5 separate regions of the Homo sapiens genome follow, and all the other regions are linked to region 4. The links are contacts of gene promoters, found by promoter capture Hi-C in blood cells and fetal thymus (Javierre and others, 2016). All regions are on one chromosome and are shown on one strand. Each heading gives the region's core, a stretch centred on a gene start or on the middle of the fragment in contact. The rest is flanking DNA. Distances are from core to core; before and after follow the strand shown.

Region 1 (2,700 bases), core at 189-2,688, 210 kb before region 4:
GGGCATCCGTGGTTGGCTAGGCCAGCAATTTCTCTCCCTGCCCACCTTAGGGCCTGCCACACCCTGCCCACTCCTAGAAGCTTATACCTGAGAGTTGAAGCCAGGGTGTTGGAGTGACTGTAGAAATCTTGTCCCCCACACACATAGAGTTCACTTCCTGCCAGGCTTGCAGCCCCATGCCGGAAGCGTCCGGGGGCAGGCAGGGCAGGCAGCTGCCCCCACTCAACAGTTCGTACCAGTCCCACGCCACAGCGGAAGGCCCGGGCCCACCACACTGCTCGGGATGGTTGTCTTAGGGCCATGTCTGGTCTGAGCCCATCCCCGCCAATCACTACCAGTGCCCGGTCAGGCTCCCTCCGTCTCTCTTGGCCTGGAACATCAGCCTCTACCATCAGCTGGTGCAACAGATCTGGGGTCAGGGGTGGAAGTAGCCCGGCTGCCCGCACCCTCCGCAACTCCCTGGTGGACATGCGGCCAAAGCGGACACATCGCAGCAGGGCCTTGGCCTCTGACTCCTGGGTCTCGGGGTTGGCAGCCAGCCAACACCGTGCAGCCACAAAGGCCTCAAACTCCTCCTGCACATGGAGCTCATCACTATCCAGGAGCTCAGCCAAGCAGGCAGCTGGTAAAGAAGGGAAAGCAGGACACAAGGCTACAGCAGGCAGGTGGGTGAGGAGGTAGTGACGGGCTTTGCTCCAGAGCCTCTCCAACCCAGGGGCTTCCGCCATGGGGAACAGGGCCAGGCAACGGGCAGGGCTGAGGCCCCGTGCCAAGCCTTTCTGACACAAATCCAAGCAGGAAGAGCTCTGGTACTGCAGAGCAGCCTGGGCAGCTCTCAGTAGCCCTGGCCACCTTGCCCGCACAACTCCGGAGTAAGCAAAAGAGACGAGGAGTCGCAGGTCCTGGGTGGAGATCGTCCGCAGAGATACCTCTGTGCCCTGGGATTCCCTCATCCCGCTCAGGAGCATGGCCCCAAAGAACTCACTGCCACAGGCCAGGGCGGCTCGGTGCACTGCAGGAGGGGAGAAGGAATAGAGGAGGACTCAAAGTATTGCAAGACCGATAGGCATTACCCCAACTTGGTACTCTAAGTTTGGCCAAACTCTAAGTTTGGCCCTCCAAGCCACCCACTGCTACAGACCAAACTGTGGTGTGCATCAGAATACCATGGGGTAGTTGTTAAAATGCAGGTTTCAGCAGTCCACTCCCAGAGATTCTGATTCAGCAGTTCTGGACGGAGACCCTAGAAATTTGTATTGTAACACTTCAAGTAACCCTATGTGATTCTCATGTTAGTGGCCTGAAGACACTTAGATAAACATTGCTTTAGTCTTTTTGGTCAGATGAGTCAGAAAAAGAGTCTTCATGGATCAGGTTGAGAGGAAAGCATTTGCTAAGAGGAGCACAAAATAAATGGGAAATGACCAACAAGCAACTTATATAGGTCTGTCTATATCGTGACAAAATAAAATTCTTTACAATCAAGAGCCAAGACTGTCAGCCATTCTGTTAGATTTTGCTGGGAAAGTGGCACCACTCGGGAATGGCTGTAATCCAACCTCATCGGATTGCTGTCTCCTCTTGCCTAAGATTTAGTGTTTAATGTTTTCCGTGCGTCCCAGCTTTTCTCTGCATAACCCTCTCCTGTTCTTGGTGTAATTTGTAGAATCATGAGATCTGAAACTTGAGAACTTCAAAATAATCTAATTCAATTATTCCCTTTAAAATAAGGAAACTGGTTGGGTGTCGTGGCACACACCTGTAATCCCAGCACTTTGGGAGGCTGAGGTGGGTAGGATCACTTGAGGTCAGGAGTTCAAGGCCAGCCTGGCCAACATGGTGAAACTCCATCTCTACCAAAAATACAAACATTAGCCGGGCATGGTGGCAGGCGCCTGTAATCCCAGCTACTTGGAGACTGAGGCAGGAGAATAGCTTGAACCTGGGAGGCGAGGGTTGCAATGAGCTGAGACTGCGCCGCTGCACCCAGCCTGGGTGACAGAGCGAGACTCCATCTCAAAATAAATAAATAAATAAAATGTGGAAACTGAGTTGGGTCCCAAAGAAAGCATGTGATTTATTTTTCATTTCCATGCAGTGGCTGTGTGGGCAGATCATCTCCATCCACTGCCACTGATGTCAGGCTGCAATAAGCATGCTTGTGTACCAATACCTTGGTTATCTGCATGGTCCTCATGACAATGAAACTGTCCTATTAACCTACGCTGTTAAACAATTAGACCTCATACTCAGCATCACTTATGGATTATTCTGGCCAAAATATTTAACTTGAATCTGTTCAACTCTTTAGATCTAAAGTCAAGTTTATAGGAAGTTGAAAGGCTAAAGGAACAATTTAGAGGGGAAAAACCACACAAATCAAGAAAATGGAGCATTTTATAGGATAACCAATTTTTTTTTTTTTGAGATAGGGTCTTACTCTGTCACCCTGCCTGGAGTGCAGTGGTACAATCTCGGCTCACTGCAACCTCCACCCTCCAGCTTCATGTGATTCTCGTGCCTCAGCTTCCAGATTAGCTGGGACTACAGGTGCACGCTACCATGCCTGGCTAATTTTTGTATTTTTAGTAGAGACGGTTTCGCCATGTTGGACAGGCTAACCTTGAACTCCTGGCCTCAAGTGATCTGCCTGCCTCGGCCTCCCAAAGTGTTGGGATTACAGGCGTGAGCCACTATGCC
Region 2 (2,700 bases), core at 13-2,512, 220 kb after region 4:
TCAGAATTCTAGAAGAACCAACCCAGTGGGGGAGTAGGTTTCAAGCACTGGCTAACGCTATAAGTCACGTGGGAGCCAGGGTAATGTTTCAGTGAGCAGTCCATTGACAGAAGTTCTGAAACAGGACCCAGCCCTCAGCAGGAGAGCGCTGGTGAGAGATTTGAATCGCTAGGGTCTGGTCATGGTGTCAGTCCCAGAGGACATCTAGTGTTCAAAGCGGGAAATTCAGACAGACGATCACTGAGATATAGAACAGAGGGTAGTATAACATATAATTGGTAGAACATTCTAATTTACACATTTAATGACTTTTTGCAAACTCAGCATGCTAATGTACTACCTGTCTCTCCATTCATCAATGAAACACTTTCTGAGCATAGACTCTGTGCCAGGCAGACCGCTAGGTACTGGAGATGCAAAACACATAACCTAGTCCCAGGGAGCTTCTAGTCCAGTGGACTCACTAGACAGAGCCTTTCATCTTTCTCCACGCACAGCCAGATTCCAGGCATTAGGGAAGGAAGAGAGTATCTGCCACACTGGAAACTTCATCTTCTCATGTGCTTATTGTTTGTATCCCCTTGTATTCTTCTTTCCTCCTTTCCTTTTCTTGGCTCCTTTTCTTCCTTTCAGATATTTCATATCCCCTAATCTATTTTTTTTTTTTTGAGATGGAGTCTCACTCTGTCACCCAGACTAGAGTGCAGTGGCGCGATCTTGGCTCACTGCAACCTTCGCCTCCCAGGTTTAAGCGATTCTCCTGCCTCAGCCTCCTGAGTAGCTGGGATTACAGGCATGCGCCACCACACCCGGCTAATTTTTTGTATTTTTAGTAGAGATGGGGTTTTGCTATATTGGCCAGGCTGGCCCCTAATCTATTGTATTACATGGCTCACATTTTATTGTAGCACAAGTGTGTTTCTGTCTTCAACAATGTGTACTGACTTGGACATCCCAGAGTCAATAATCTGGAGATACTCTGACTTGTATTATTAGTAGTAGGCCTCACGTATTTTTGTGTTTTTACCTAATAAACTTCCAGCTTATTAGAGAATGCTAATCCAGGAGATCCTGGTTTATGTTAGAGTTTGTAGACCACTACTTCAGAAAAATCAGGAGTGTTTGTGAATTCATGATCACACATAGTAGTGAGAGCAAAAAGACACAGTCTAAGGGCATTTGTTTTTTAAATGATTCTAATAGAAATATTCCACATTTTTATAGAATTATCTTGTTTCCCAACTAACAAAAATCTGTACAACAATAACTTCTAACTTTTGGCAATGAGTAGAAAGGGTGGTTCTCACGAATGCTACCACACAGTGGAAATTTCCCCATCCACATTGAGACTGAGGAAGAGATAATCATCAAAAAAATCAGCCCCTTTCCCAGTTAAGGTTCTCTCTTTCTCTCTCTCTCTCTCTCTCTCTCTCTCACACACACACACACCACACACACTTCAAAGCCCTTCTTTAAGTTAGGCCAGGAAAGAGCAACTGAGGCGCCCAACATACAGACCCCTTTACCTTTTCAGAGATTGTCTTTGCAAGTCAGGATCTAATACTGGGGTTCAAGGTAAATTTGATATTACACCCACATGGATATAATTTCATATTCTCCCTATTCTGGACCCTGAGATGGAAAGAGCATAGAGACAGGGCCCAGAGATTTTCCAGCAAGAAAATTAAAGAACATATGTGAGGCAGGATAGTTTGCTGAGATACTACTTTTTCTTTCTTCTCTTTGTATTTTCCTCATGCCTCTAGTTCCAAGCAGAGAGCCAGACCCTTTTGCAATTCCTTAGGATATCTGCAGAATGGAAAGGAGGAAGTGTATGAAGCCAAACTTAATCTTACTGTCTTTTGAGAACCCTGAAATTTGGTGAAAATAAATTGCCTCTTGAAAAGTGTGGCAAAGTTGAGATTGGAGAGAGACTGAGGGCGAAGTTGGAGGGGAGGAAAAATGCAGAGGAGAGGCAGCATGGTGAACCTAGGCTGACTCCAGGCACAGAAGATCCGGACCGCCATGAAAACCCCCACGCCCTCAAGAATGAAACAGAAGCAGCTCAGCTAAGGTTTCTGTGCACCTTCTAAACCGAGGAAGGGGAGCCGGGTCAATCAGGCTCAGAGGTAGAGATGCCTAGCTCACTGCTTGCCGGCAGGGGGCGCTCTCCTATTATTGTATTTTCTTTTTTGAGGACATCAAGACTCAGTGTGCAAAAATTCTCATCAAAGATACAAATTCAAATGTGGTTGCTTTTGTAAAAATACCCATCTTCACAACCCCAGACTACTCCTCAACTCGTGCTTGCTGGAGGCTCCACCCTCTGCATTCTCTTCATTACTTCGGGTCTCTTTGACTTGTCTCTTGTAAGGACGAAGGCTTCGCCAGCATCGGCACACATCTGCTGCCTGATCTGGCCATGTGAACCACTGTCCATCCCTCAGAGGCAAATTCCTCCCACAACACCTGACTTACACCAGCCTTTTCTATCCAGAGACCTTGGCACCAGGATTAAAAAGCAAGTATCTCCTTTATTTGCCTCTATTTGGTGGCCGGATGCTAACACAGTACGATTTTCACCTTTTCTCCCTTCTCTTAACTCTCCCATTTAGCTACACAGGTTTGAGGTTAAGCCTAGGATATAGTTGTACACATTAATTATTATTTTACTTGACTTCAAGTAGACTTCTCAGGATA
Region 3 (2,768 bases), core at 84-2,583, 250 kb after region 4:
TCTAAATGACAGGAAAATTGGACGGTAGTAAAAATTAGGCAGATTAACTGTTGGAAGGTATATTATATCATTTAAGGGTCTACTTTCCATTTTCTAATCTCAAAGCTAGACCAGATTTAACATCTGTTAGTACCCAGGCCTTACCTTTGCAATTCACTTCTCACCTCTGTACAATTTCCCCACATCATCCCCTGTGCCCAGAATGCTCATCTCTTCTCTAAATCCCCTGAAAATCCCCTGCTTATCCTTTAGGACCTGCTGAAATAAACTTTTTTTTGAAGTTTTCCTTATTTCTCAAGCCAAGTGATTTCCTTCACCAGCAGTGTCCCTATGACACCATGTTCACACAAATGCTATTACCTCTATCACACTGTAATACAATTATATGTCTACAAGTACTTTCCTGTGTTTCTCTGAGGGCCAAGAATAAATGTATGCTTTGTGTATCAAACTGTACACTTGACCTCTATACTTTCAGGAATACAGTGCTCTGTCCTTAAATGTTCATTTGTAAATACAGAACCATATTCTTGTTAATATCACAAAATGAAACTTACCAGGAAGATGAATGACAACCCCAGAACACACTGTTTTGTAGAAAATACCATAGGCTGAAAAGATCACAGGAATACCGAGTGCTAGGTTGGAATCTTTCATGACACCAAATGTTCATTCATCCTCTGCCAGATTTTACAACTGTCCTCGGTGTGTTTTTAGGTTATGTAACTTTACACAAAGTGGAATCAATAATCAGGGCAAGACTTAAGAGAAAGTGGATCCAATGCAAGAGGAGTAAAGAAAAAAATTCCTCAATTGTATGGAGCAGATTGTTTTAATTATCTACAGAATCTTGTGCCCCAAGAAATTAATAGCTCAAGTTTCCAGCAAGAGTGGTGGATGAGATGGAGAGCATTTATGTGAGAGAGAACCAAGGATATTACTAAAAATGGAAGGGAAGCTGGGTTTCTCCTGGGCAAACAGCCCTCTGTGGCTCTATTTCTCCTAACTACTATGCCTGCCTTCGTGTCATTTAGTCATTTAGGGGCCTGCCAGAGGACAGTTATAAAATCTGTGGTCATTCTGCCGGCAGCGTATAGTTTTCACCCAGAGTCCAGATCCCACCGGCAAAACTCTGTCTAACACAGGATGACTTGGAATTAGAGTCCGTATAGCAGAAAGAGCAGCAGGGCTGTCCTTGGGTATCCGTTGCTCAGCCAAGTCATCAAATAAAAAGGATGATTGCACAAGTGGACCATGTGTCAATCTGTGGGTTTCTGCATGGCCAGACCCACCAAGGGAAGCTTTATTTAAACAGTTCCAAGTAGGGGAGACCAGCTGCCCCTGAACCCCAGAACAACCAGCTGGATCAGTTCTCACAGGAGCCACAGCTCAGAGACTGGGTAAGTCAACAATCCCCAGAGCTGGGACAGGAGGGGCAGCGACAGGGCAGCACCTGAGGGAGAGGTGAGCTGAAGTTAGTGCTTAGGAGATGTGGCACACTTTGGGGACAGGAAGAAAAGGAAATGCGACCCCAGAGTGGCAGCAGAGGGGCCTGTGGGTTGAGACACTATAGAGTGTGTCATAACCGAGACCGGATCGGGGAGTAGTTACTTCTCTTCTTTTCTTACAGGAAACATGGTTCCAAAACTGTTCACTTCCCAAATTTGTCTGCTTCTTCTGTTGGGGCTTATGGGTGTGGAGGGCTCACTCCATGCCAGACCCCCACAGTTTACGAGGGCTCAGTGGTTTGCCATCCAGCACATCAGTCTGAACCCCCCTCGATGCACCATTGCAATGCGGGCAATTAACAATTATCGATGGCGTTGCAAAAACCAAAATACTTTTCTTCGTACAACTTTTGCTAATGTAGTTAATGTTTGTGGTAACCAAAGTATACGCTGCCCTCATAACAGAACTCTCAACAATTGTCATCGGAGTAGATTCCGGGTGCCTTTACTCCACTGTGACCTCATAAATCCAGGTGCACAGAATATTTCAAACTGCACGTATGCAGACAGACCAGGAAGGAGGTTCTATGTAGTTGCATGTGACAACAGAGATCCACGGGATTCTCCACGGTATCCTGTGGTTCCAGTTCACCTGGATACCACCATCTAAGCTCCTGTATCAGCAGTCCTCATCATCACTCATCTGCCAAGCTCCTCAATCATAGCCAAGATCCCATCCCTCCATGTACTCTGGGTATCAGCAACTGTCCTCATCAGTCTCCATACCCCTTCAGCTTTCCTGAGCTGAAGTCCCTTGTGAACCCTGCAATAAACTGCTTTGCAAATTCATCTGGAAGTGTCTGTGTGTCTTCCTCGGCCGCTCTGCTGTCATTTAGTGACAATCTGCTCTAGAGATTTGGGTTTATCATGAATCTCTCCCCCTCAATATCTGACCAAATTCCTTAATTCCCCCATCATCCTTCATGTGATACCTGATTCCAGGCCTGCCTTAAAAAAAAATCCAATTGAGTCAACTTAGCATTGGTCTCCCTAGCCTTAATATCTCCTCTAAGCAATTTTCCATCCACTGACTCCTCCCCCAACACCAACCTATAACTTGTGTATAGATCTCCACTTGTTTTAGTTGTATTCCAGAATTGAGCCCAATTTGATATTGAGGTCCCATTTGATGCTTTATGGTCCGACTATGGTTTTTATTGACATGATTTCTATCCCAAGAAAAAAAGAGCTGCAGTGAATCAGCTGAAAATGCACGTGCTTCATTATGATTTATGAATGATAAATTTTGATAGAATTGAA
Region 4 (2,700 bases), core at 60-2,559:
CCCAGCACTTCGGGAGGCTGAGGTGGGTGGATCACTTGATGCCAGGAGTTTGAGACTAGCCTGGTCATCGAGTGAAACCCCATCTCTACTAAAAATACAAAAATTAGCCAGGTGTGGTGGTGGGCACATGTAATCCCAGCTACTCAGGAGGCTGAGGCAGGAGAATTGCTTAAACCCAGGAGGTGGAGGTTGCAGTGAGCTGAGATCGCGCCACTGCACTCCAGCCTGGGCGACAGAGTGAGACTTTCTCTCTCTCTCTCTCAAAAAAAAAAAAAAAAAAAAAAAAAAAAGACTAGTTACTAGACTCTTCACTTTTACTTTACTGCTTTCTCACTGAGACATTTATCAAGTAAAAGATTCCCTAAAACGCCTGCCACTACCTTCCTAAACATGTCCTTCAAAGCTTCCTTGACTTGCTCATTACGTAAGGCATAGATGAATGGATTCAACAGTGGTGTCACAAATGTCGTTATTACTGTCACTGCCCAGTTAGTGTCCACAGAACCACTCTGCGATGGCCGCACATAGAGAAAAATGGCACTTCCATAGAAGAGGGTCACCACTATCAAGTGGGAGGTACAGGTAGAGAAGGCCTTCTGACGGCCTGAAGCAGAGGGGATGCTCAGGACTGCCAGCACAATGAGGCCGTAGGACACAGCAGTGATCAGCAAGGAAGATACAATGACGAGGGAGGCCAGGACAAAGTCAGTCTCCTCCAGCTTCTTGGTGTTGGTGCAAGCCAGGCGGAGCAGTGGGCCACTGTCGCAGAAGAAGTGCTGTACCACAGCACCCTGCTTACAGAAAGGAAGCAAGGCCACAGCCACTGTGGGACCAAGCACAGGGACGAGTCCCCCCACCCAGCAGGCCAAGGCCACACGAAAGCACACAGCCCCACTCATGAGCAAGGGGTAGCGCAGAGGATGACAGATGGCCAGGTAGCGATCCGCAGACATGACAGCCAACAGTAAGAACTCGGAGGCCCCGAGAAAGAAGTAGAAATAGAATTGGGTGATACATGCAGCAAAGGAAATAGTGTGTTGCCTTGAGAGGAAATTGCTCAGCATCTTTGGAATGATGACAGAAGTGAGCAGTATCTCTAGGCAGGACAGGTTACCCAGAAAGAAGTACATAGGGGTCTGTAGTCGAGTATCAGCCCTTACCACCCCCACAATCAACACATTGCCTGTCAGATTCAGGAGATAGACAAGAAGAAACACAGAAAATAATTCCACTCTTGCGCTGTTGAGATTTGGGAGCCCTGCCAGGACGAACTCTGTTGGATCACTACTGTGGTTCCCATCAGGACTCATTGTCTTTTTCACCTGTCCAACAACAAAAACATGATCCTGGTAAGAGCAGGTCCTCTGCTTACAGTCCTGAAACTTACTTCATCATGATATGGGACTCATATCCCCAGTTTATCCAATTGCAGGTCCTGTTAAGATCTGAAGCACTTAAGGTCATCATCTGATTGATTTTAGCACTAGAGAAGATTTTCTCTAAAGGGTAACAAAACTTAGGTATGAAAATGCCAGGAGCCTCCATCTCCTCCATCTTCACATATCCTGTTCTCAGATCTTAAATAATGACACCTCATTATTGTAATAACAATATCACTGAGCATCTGAGTTGGGCAAAAATATCTGAAAAAGGATTTTGTGAAGAATATGATTACCATTCAACTGGGATCAGAACTTGAGTCAGACTACCTAGTTTTAAATTCCTGCATCTCCACTTACTGGCTGAGTAGCCTTGGTAAGGTTACTTACCCTCTCTGTGCTCCTCAGTTGTGAAATGCTGTAAGGAGCAAATGATATAATAGTGCAAAGAATTTAAGAGTGTCTAGTACTTAACTTAAAAATTATATGGCAGAGAAAGCCCCTGGCTATAAGTTAGGACACCAGAATCTAGGCTTGGCTTGCCATTACTCTTGGAAGATTATCAATTTGTACTTTAACTGTCCAACTGTACAATGAGTCACAGGAATCTAGGCCATTAGTATACCTAATGAAATTATATAAAATTACCCTTTCCGGCAGGACGCAGTGGCTCATGCCTGTAATCCCAGCTTTTGGGAGACCGAGGCGGGCGGATCACTTGAGGCCAGGAGTTTGAGACAAGCCTGGCCAACATGGTGAAACCCCGTCAGATGTTTGTCAGAGCCAAAATTATGAATTTCTGACCGCAACTATTAATAAAAAATTATGTTCTTATTCTTTGATTCTTATTCTTTGCTTCAAGTCCTCCCAGTTCTGAGGACCACCACCAGTTAGAAAAATCAAGTCCATTATATCCAGAAAGCTTGTTTAAAAATGCCTCAGGTATCAGGAGAATCCTTACTCCCTTTTGACAGAGCAGGAGCACCATCGTCTTGGACAAACACTGCCACTTTAAGTTTCAGCTCCCTTTCTAGCCTCATGCATTTCAAAGAAATCACTTCTCTTCTAACTACAGGCAGCCAGAAAGAGCAGACAGTAAAACACAGATAAGACAGCTCGGGCACAGAGGGAGGTGAGGGGAAATTCTTTTGGGTAACCGCCAAACTTCACCATCATACAATGGGCCCCAGTAAAACGATGGGCCTTAATAAGCACCTTTCTTTCCCTTCAGGTGCACTAAGATAGGGAAGCTGAATGGGAGTATGCCTGCAGCTACAGAAAGATTATGGGAACAGACACAAAACTCTCCCTCCCAGATAAG
Region 5 (2,700 bases), core at 81-2,580, 230 kb after region 4:
TGTGTGGCTCAAGAGGTGGACCTGGCCAGGCACGGTGGCTCACACCTGTAATCCCAGCACTTTGGGAGGCTGAGGAGGGCAGATCACCTGAGGTAAGGAATTCAAGACCAGCCTGGCCAACATGGTGAAACCCTGTCTCTACTAAAAATACAAAAATTAGCTGGGTGTGGTGGCGCATGCCTGTAATCCCAGCTACTCAGGAGGCTGAGGAAGGAGAGTTGCTTGAACCCAGGAACCGAAGGTTGCAGTGAACCGAGATTGTGCCACTGCACTCCAGCCTGGGTGACTGAGTGAGACTCAATCTCAAAAAAAAAGACGGACCCATTCTAAAAAAGTTTCTACATGAGTTTATAAGTACTCGCTTCTGCATGTCTGAAAAAATCTCTGTCTAATAAGAGAGACACACCTCAAAAGTTTTATCAATAAAAAAGGTACAAAAAAGTCAGAATAAAAATAGGACATAAAATCAATGCTATAAATATTAAACAGATTATGAATAACTTTGTGCTAATATATTTGGGAACTTTAGACGAAATGGATAAATTCCTACGTGGGAAAAAACAATCTACCAAAGCTTTCTCAAGAAGAAATGGAAAAGTTAGCATCTCTTTAACCATTAAGGAAATTGAAACAGAAGTTTAAAATAGTTTGAGGCTAAGCCTGGTGGTGTGTACCTGTAGACCCAGCTACTCTGGAGGCTGAGGCAGCAGGATTATTCGAGATCAGGAGTTCAAGCCCAGGAGTTTGAGGCACCTGAGACCGAGTGTTCAAGGATCAGTTGAGACCAGTAATTCGAGGTATGCTCTGTGATTGCACCTGTGAATAGCCACTGCACACTAGCCTGGGCAACATAGGAAGACCCATCTCCAAAAAAAAAAAAAAAGGAAAAGAAAAAAGAAAAAGCAGTCTCAAAGAAAATAAGAAAATATCAGGACCAAACAGCCTTACATGTGAGTTCTACCAAGTATTAAAATAACATATAATTCCAGTTACAAAATAAAGAAGGACTACTCCCCAATTCATTTCTGGAAGCTAACATATAACCTAGATACCAAAATTAAACAAGGCAATACAAAAAATTACAGACCAATCTCATTCGTGAACATAAATGCAAAAAAAATTTAACAAAATATTAGCAAATTAAATTTAGTCATATATAAAAAAGATTATATCACATAACCAAAATGGGTTTATCCCAGGAATACAAGGTTGGTTTAGTATTCTAAAATCAACTAATCTAATTCACCCCATTAACTGATTAAAGAAATATGCTGTATAATCCCATCATTCAACGAAATTCCCAATCCATTCAAGAGACATAAACAGGAGCAGAAGGGAAGAAACTTTTCTAATCTAAAAATGGGCATCTACAAAAGATCCACAGCAACAACCAGACCTACCAAAATGGCCCCTTAAAGATTTCTTGAAGGCACTTTTATAGCGAGCATTAGGCTAAGTGCTGAATGTCAAGAACAAAGGCAAAACAGCTATACCTCCTGGCATCGGGGGAAGGAATGAAAGTAATAGTATCCAGTTTTGTCACTGGATTATTCCAAAAGGGTAAAATCCTCACGCAACTCTGTTCCACAGGCACCGGGCTAGTCAGTTAATGGACGGCTGCCCTAGAGTCAAGTGCCCTCCTTTGCTTCAAAACCTTGTCACCATTCTGCTGGAGTCACAGGGTAGAGAATATGAACACCTTTGGATGCTTCCTCTCGTGGATAAAATAACCTCCTTCAGAAGGGGATCGGTGATGTAATGGATTCCATGAAAGAAATAAACTCTTCTCCAGCGCAGCTGAACTGTAAAGCTCATAACACAAGTAGGTCCTCAGTGCATATTCACTTCCTTTCCTTCTTACCTGAGGTGCTGCAGTGTGAATCTGAAGGTGGCAGGTTCAACGTTAAAGTGCTGCAGTGTATGAAAGTTATGGTAGACTCAGAAATCTGTTCTTCAACAGTTAGACTGTATTTATGCTGGCTGGATTTTGTTTATTCACCTATTATCGTCTACCCGTGTCAGCAACCAAGAAACCTGCAGCCTGTCTCAAAGGAAACCAAGAAAGAAGTTTTGGACTCTTGTGCAGGAAGCTTGTGGCGCGGCGCCCCCTGCCGACCAATACGACGGCCACGGGAACTGGGAGACCACGAAGGCTCTGGGCCTGCGGAGTTGCCCAAGCTCCTCCGGCTTCTCCGGAAACGGCTTTTTCCGGTGACACCCCTGGAGCCACAGTGATTTGTTTCCCTAAAGGAAGCGGTTTCCCGCCAGGGTATCGTCCCTAATACCCTCCGAAGGAGCCCATTGAGGAGAAAGGCATAGAATGTCCCGCAGAAGGCAGAAGGACCCTATGATCCAGGAAACCTAGGGCCAGCCATCAGGAGGTTTTATGAGAGCAGCTGGTGGGAAGATCAGCCCCAGGAGAAGGGGATTGTCTAGCAGCTTGGTTGGAGCAAGTCTTTTCCCGAGTATTATTTCCGTAATTCAGGCTCCCTCCCACCAACCCTCCACTGCAGCCTTATCCTCCACCAAAAGCCCTGACACTGTGGCAGGGGTAGGGCACATGGGGTTGGTGGGGAACAGGCTGTAAGAAAGACGCAGGAGCCTGCGTGCAAAGGACGAAGCATTTACAAAGAAGACCTTGACAGTGCTGCACAGATTTGAAGGCGTAGGGTGCAAGTCATTCAGGTGCCGTTGTCAGGA

The links. Contacts are between HindIII fragments. The CHiCAGO score rates a contact against its expected background, and 5 or more counts as called.
Region 1: a contact is called between a fragment that was not itself captured here and the fragment with the promoter of OR6S1 in region 4, in 1 of 17 cell types (naive B cells). The highest score is 6.7, in naive B cells.
Region 2: a contact is called between a fragment that was not itself captured here and the fragment with the promoter of OR6S1 in region 4, in 8 of 17 cell types (naive B cells, total B cells, M2 macrophages and 5 more). The highest score is 10.2, in naive B cells.
Region 3: the fragment with the promoter of RNASE3 here is called in contact with the fragment with the promoter of OR6S1 in region 4 in 12 of 17 cell types (M2 macrophages, total B cells, M0 macrophages and 9 more); the score reaches 11.8 in M2 macrophages.
Region 5: a contact is called between a fragment that was not itself captured here and the fragment with the promoter of OR6S1 in region 4, in 11 of 17 cell types (naive B cells, erythroblasts, total B cells and 8 more). The highest score is 12.8, in naive B cells.

Annotation. Positions count from the first base shown.
Region 1 is chr14:20,429,708-20,432,407 of GRCh38, forward strand. KLHL33 (kelch like family member 33) reads right to left here. Exons shown (of 5, transcript NM_001365790.2): 3 at 88-1,012. Among named protein-coding and RNA genes, the nearest start is that of KLHL33, 5.1 kb to the right of the region's middle. The HindIII fragment of the contact is 2,721 bases long and covers 79-2,700 here.
Region 2 is chr14:20,855,670-20,858,369 of GRCh38, forward strand. No RefSeq gene overlaps it. Among named protein-coding and RNA genes, the nearest start is that of RNASE3, 34 kb to the right of the region's middle. The HindIII fragment of the contact is 4,704 bases long and covers 1-2,700 here.
Region 3 is chr14:20,890,052-20,892,819 of GRCh38, forward strand. It overlaps RNASE3 (ribonuclease A family member 3), which reads left to right and starts at 1,334. Exons shown (of 2, transcript NM_002935.3): 1 at 1,334-1,400; 2 at 1,631-2,297. The coding sequence starts at 1,636. The coding sequence ends at 2,118. All of the region lies in intron 1 of LOC100507513 (a long non-coding RNA gene), which reads right to left. The HindIII fragment of the contact is 4,045 bases long and covers 1,300-2,768 here.
Region 4 is chr14:20,640,382-20,643,081 of GRCh38, forward strand. OR6S1 (olfactory receptor family 6 subfamily S member 1) reads right to left here and starts at 1,310. Exons shown (of 1, transcript NM_001001968.1): 1 at 315-1,310. The coding sequence starts at 1,310. The coding sequence ends at 315. RefSeq lists an enhancer at 2,247-2,700. The HindIII fragment of the contact is 1,898 bases long and covers 402-2,299 here.
Region 5 is chr14:20,871,698-20,874,397 of GRCh38, forward strand. LOC100507513 (a long non-coding RNA gene) reads right to left here. Exons shown (of 4, transcript XR_110261.4): 3 at 1,862-2,700. Among named protein-coding and RNA genes, the nearest start is that of RNASE3, 18 kb to the right of the region's middle. RefSeq lists enhancers at 2,095-2,194, 2,305-2,354. The HindIII fragment of the contact is 1,516 bases long and covers 573-2,088 here.